Linked DNA regions of Homo sapiens: region 1 is linked to region 2. Evidence: promoter capture Hi-C in 16 types of primary human blood cells and fetal thymus (Javierre and others, 2016). All regions are on one chromosome and are shown on one strand. Each heading gives the region's core, a stretch centred on a gene start or on the middle of the fragment in contact. The rest is flanking DNA. Distances are from core to core; before and after follow the strand shown. Region 1 overlaps UBE2L6 (ubiquitin conjugating enzyme E2 L6). Region 2 holds the start of CNTF (ciliary neurotrophic factor).

Evidence for each region. Contacts are between HindIII fragments. The CHiCAGO score rates a contact against its expected background, and 5 or more counts as called.
Region 1: a contact is called between a fragment that was not itself captured here and the fragment with the promoter of CNTF in region 2, in 1 of 17 cell types (naive CD8 T cells). The highest score is 5.3, in naive CD8 T cells.

The regions. Positions count from the first base shown.
Region 1 is chr11:57,552,638-57,555,382 of GRCh38, forward strand. UBE2L6 (ubiquitin conjugating enzyme E2 L6) reads right to left here. Exons shown (of 4, transcript NM_004223.5): 3 at 1,800-1,986. Among named protein-coding and RNA genes, the nearest start is that of UBE2L6, 14 kb to the right of the region's middle. The HindIII fragment of the contact is 6,800 bases long and covers 1-2,745 here.
Region 2 is chr11:58,621,352-58,624,051 of GRCh38, forward strand. It overlaps CNTF (ciliary neurotrophic factor), which reads left to right and starts at 1,314. Exons shown (of 2, transcript NM_000614.4): 1 at 1,314-1,515; 2 at 2,683-2,700. The coding sequence starts at 1,402. ZFP91 (ZFP91 zinc finger protein, atypical E3 ubiquitin ligase) reads left to right here. Exons shown (of 11, transcript NM_053023.5): 11 at 1-199. ZFP91-CNTF (ZFP91-CNTF readthrough (NMD candidate)) reads left to right here. Exons shown (of 13, transcript NR_024091.1): 12 at 1,415-1,515; 13 at 2,683-2,700. The HindIII fragment of the contact is 9,454 bases long and covers 1-2,700 here.

The sequences.
Region 1 (2,745 bases), core at 64-2,563, 1.1 Mb before region 2:
CGACCAGATCAAACGCCCCGCTCATTCTTGGCTGGTGACACCCAAGGCCTTGACTGATTACATCAGTGGTTTTCAAACAACTACATTCCATGGCTTCAGAGAAGCTCCTCATCACAGGGGCCACTGAGATAAGTGAGGTTTCTGGGTCTTATCCCCATTTCAACAAAAACTGCTCTGTTTTCCTCCATTATATTGGTAGTCCAAATAAACTTTTCCTTGGGCAAAAGAGGTCTAAGGCTAAAGACTGAAAACCACCACTGCCCCCTGGCTCTTCATCTTTCACAGATGCCTTTGGGAACCTAGTGAAGGCAGCAGCCCATCTCCCGAGACAGATGTGCACATCCACATGCAAAACAGACAGTTCCCAGACCCCCTGAAGCTCATCCAAGGACCACTCCTCTCCCTGCTCCCACTCCCACCAACCTAAGGACTTTCATTTCCTGAGTTAAAAACTCCTGAGCTGGTCCAGGTGGAGGATTGCACACTGATTCAGCCACAGGCTCTAGAGCTGTGTTGTTCAATATGGTAGCCATTAGCCACATGCAGGCATCTAAATTTAAATGAATTAAAATCAGGCTGGGCACGGTGGCTCACGCCTGTAATCCCACCACTTTGGGAGGCCAAGATGGGTGGATGGCTTGAACTCACGAGTTTGAGACCAGCCTGGGCAATATGGCAAAACCTGGTATCTACAAAGCATGCAAAAATTAGCCAGGTATAGTGGCATGCTCCTGTAGTCCCAGTTACTCGGGAGGCTGAGGTGGGAGGATGGCTTGAGCCCAGGAGGTGGAGGTTGCAGTGAGCCAAGATTGCGCCACTGAACTAACTGCCTGGGCAATAGAGACAGACCGTGTCTCAGTAGAAAAAACAAAAAGGATTAAAATTAAGTACAATTAAGAATTGAGTTCTGGCCAGGCGCAGTGACTCACACCTGTAATCCCAGCACTCTGGGAGGCGGAGGCAGGCGGATCGCCTGAGGTCAGGAGTTCGAGACCAGCCTGGCTAACATGGCAAAACCCCTCTCTATTAAAAATACAAAATAGCTGGGTGTGGTGTCATACGCCTGTAATTCCAGCTATTCAAGAAGCTGAGGCCGGAGAATCGCTTGAACCTGGGAGGTGGAGGTTGCAGTGAGCCAAGATCGCGCCACTGCACTCCAGCCTAGGCGACAGAGCGAGACTCTGTCTTAAAAAAGAAAAAGAATTGAGTTCTTCAGTTGCAACAGCCACATGTGGCTTGCGAGTCAGCCAAGTGCTGCCGTTTGTCATCTGTATGACCTTAGGCAACCACTTCACCTCTCACATGCCTCAGATGTCCGGGTCTACTAAACAACACTACCTCACGGGCTTGTTGGGGAAATAAAAATGAAGTCGGCAGGTGATGTTTTTAGCACAGTGCCGAAAGTGCTCAGTCAAGTGACAGGTATTATCATTATGAGGCCAGTTCCCTCCACTGTCATTTAGGACACCGAGTCCCAGAAAGGAACGAAAACTTGCCCAAAGTCCACAGAGGGAACAGCGGGCTTTCTTTTCCCGAGCCCTTCCCTGTGCAGCCAAGCTGCCTCTCCCATGAACCGCAGCAACGTTCCTCTGTCACAACTGCACAGGTATAAGAAGAGAGGCAGGAGGAGGTCAGTCTGTCCAGGAAGCATCCCTTCTATCTCATAGTAAGTTCAGCCAAGACTCACAATTTTTATCTCCTCTCTTTGGGGCTTTTCAAGCTCAGAATAAGCTGTGAACCCCCTCTCCAGTAATCTCTACCCAGTATCAGTCCCTCCTCCAAGCAAAGCCCAACCCCACCTTGGCAAGTCTTGGTGCAAGGCTTCCAGTTCTCACTGCTGATGATGGGCAGGCAAATCTGTCCGTTCTCGTCCACGTTGGGGTGGTAGATCTTGGTTGTGAATTTGATCATGGGAGGCTTGAACGGATACTCCGGCGGGAAGCTGATGCGCAGGTTGAAGGCTTTCAGGTGGTAGGGAGGTTGGTCCTGTGCAGAGAGAAAAGGGGTCAAGCTCCAGTCTGGTTTTCCTCCCTTCCTGCCCCAATCCGAGGGTCCTAGGCATCCTCTGCTTCACTCCCAGGAGGAATCATGAGCCAGGACACACACAGCACCTGCATTCATTTGACAATTGAGTCATGGATTAGTGAAAATGTGAAATCACCAAAGGGCACTGGCCTGGGAGGCAGAGAAGTCTGATCCTGGCTTTTGCTGTGTGACCACGGGTGAGCCACTTCCCACCTCTAGGCCTCAGTTTCCTCATTTGAAAAGTGGATAAAGATGGACTAGATGAGCTCTAAGGACCATCTCAGCTTTCAAGACTTTCTGAGATTATGGAAGAAAAGGATGGAACATCCTTTCTTAAAACATTAGAATGGGGGTGAGGAAATGGAGAAAATGAGGAAATCCTAAGAACTCAGGAGCTTAGGAAAATAAAATGGTGCAGCTGTGATGGAAAACAGTATGGCCATTTCTCAAAAGATTAGACACAGAATTACCATATGATCCAGCAGTTCTACTTCTGGGTAGACACCCAAAGAACTGAAAGCAAACAGGTATTTGTATACCAATGTTTCTAGCAGCCAAAAGGTGAAAGCAAACCAAGTGTCTATCAATGGATCAATCAACAAAACGTGGCATATACACACAATGGAGTATTATTTAGCCTTAAAAGGAATGAAATTCTGATATATGCTACAACACGGATGAACCTTGAAGACACTATGCTACAGGAAATAAGCTAGACAA
Region 2 (2,700 bases), core at 64-2,563:
AATGACAAAACCTTGATAGCATTTAATATTAATACTTCTTCTCAAAATTGAATGTTTATATCAAGTACTGATTTTTATTTTAAAAAAGAAAAAACTATAATCCTTCTGCCTTCCAAAAGCCATGCTGTGATAGCTGCCCAGGCTGCTCTGTTACATCTCCCATTTATTGTTTACTTTTATAAATTTGCTTCTAAGATGGTATGTGTTTCAGCTTATTGGCAATATCTATGATATAAATAATGAAAGCTAATTATTTCATTTAGCCCTTACCCAATAAGCATCATTTTCTAAGTTAAATGCAATAGAATGACAACCCTCCAAGTACCTTTTAACTTTTATACTGTCATTTCAAAGCCCAGCTCATTCTCTTATTTTAAGAAGCATGTGGTATGACTGGGTAGGGGAGAAAAAAGGAAAGCATGTTGTCACTTGAGTGAGACTGCTTTAGAAATGTTACCAAGTTAGCGTTGGGTGTTTCCTGTTCTTTGGAAGAGAACAGGCCTAAACAGTACCTTCCTCCTCCTATGTAGCTACCAGGAAGGCACCGTGATTGAAATTAGAGATGCTTCCTTGCTTGATTTTTAAGTATAAATTAAATTACCTTTAAAAAGTACGTAAGGTTAGGAGTGAAAAAAATCCTGTTTTTAAAGGACTTCACACACCCTTTGTTTCTTGAACAAGATGTGAACTACCTAAACAGAAAATGAAATTGGAAAGTCAGTGGGAGAGACAACTATAGAATCAGACTTCTATTTAAATTCAAGCCTCGTTACTTGATTTTGTGCATGTTATTTCTTGAAGTTTCAGTTTCTTATATGGAGAAATAACATTTACCTCAGAAATATTCTGAAGATCAAATGGAATTGCTTTAAAGTATTTAGCTTACTGACTGACCCATGGTAGATACTTAATAAATGGCAGCTGTGTCAATAACAATTTTATTGAATGAACATTTCGCCAGCCTATGAGAAAAAAGACATGGGAAGCATAAGGGAGAATGATAATAAAATGAACTAATTCTAAGTGTGTGAGATAGATTACATTAGGCAGGGGTGCCATGAGGATTGGTATGATAGTGACCTTGTTGCTAAGTGCAAAAGCAAAACAATGACATAGAAACAAGTGTGCTAAGTACTGAGTGGAGGAGAGAGATGGAGGCAGACGCTGCAGGGGAAAAAAAATCTGATTAAAAAGGGCCCTTTGATTCCACAGGCACAAAAATCCACAGCCAGGAATTTGCTACCTCCTCTGAGTCAGGCAGGGCGTGGGGGTGGGGTGCACAATCCCATTAGTAGAGAATGCCCAGTGGGTTTAGTCTTTGAGAGTCACATCTCTTATTTGGACCAGTATAGACAGAAGTAAACCCAGCTGACTTGTTTCCTGGGACAGTTGAGTTAAGGGATGGCTTTCACAGAGCATTCACCGCTGACCCCTCACCGTCGGGACCTCTGTAGCCGCTCTATCTGGCTAGCAAGGAAGATTCGTTCAGACCTGACTGCTCTTACGGAATCCTATGTAAGTTGCCTATTTTGCTGTTATCTGTTTTCCCTTCATCTTTTTTGATCCAGCAACTTACCATCACGCATCAGCTCCATTACCAATTGTGAAAGCTCTAATCATATAGTCATTCATATAGGTTATTTGACATGGGCCCTTCCCTTGAGGAAACCCATGTGACTTTATTTTCTTCCTCTGGGCTGTTTAGGAGATGAAGTTACTTGAATGAGAAAATATATATGGAGTTCTAGAAAGGATTGGTTTATATGTCTTGGAGGCTATTCCAAATTTATTGGCATATATTCTGAATACTACTAGAACAGATTAGCCATGGGCCCTCTGGGTTCTTCATAGCCATTGTTCTGAATTTTTTAGCTATGTAAATGAAAGGTTTATGGGATAGGAAGAGTACTATGAACGTGGGAGGAATTTGTAAATCCTACCAATTTCTCCTATATAGCATTAGCCACCCACCTTTTAGTATTCTGCATCAAAAGTAGATTGTGTCTAAAGAGAAAGGTAAGCTATCAAAAGGATCTCCTAGAAGATTCATTGGAAACTTGTGGAAGTGTCAAATTCTTGAGCTAATTCTGGAGTTCCAGATTTGTCTTCTAACAGTAAGGGGATCCCCATCAATTTCCACCTGAGATATGCTGTGGAAATACTCCAACCCCTGTGGAGAGTTTTGAATTTAGGCTGAGAACTGATTTATCTTTGTACAGCCTCACCAGACAGAAATCAGACTCTTTGGGAGTGCTCAATGGGGAGAGGGAAGTTAGAGAAATTCTACAATGGCTATATTCCAAGTTTTCCTAGTTGTGGCCAGTGTCTTTTACAAGTATGTTTAAAAATACTTTAATATGATTAAAATATTCCAGTTAATGAGAGAGTTTGAAGTGAGAAGGAAAAATTCTTCTAAATCAGTTTTCAACCTTTAGAACTCAATAAAATCTGAACATTCTTCTAAGAAAAATCCATAGGTAGTCAATTTCAGGCAGTATTGGGTCTTTCTAAAGTCCAGTCATAGAGCCCAAATTAAGAGTTCCTACTGTAGACATATTATTTACTTTACAACTTGGATCCTTGGCCAGAGAGATGAGTGAGATTTTGTATGAAATTTAGGGGTGATTTAAGGACACTGGGGTGATGACAGAAGATGTGGTGTTTTCCTGTATCCTCGGCCAGGTGAAGCATCAGGGCCTG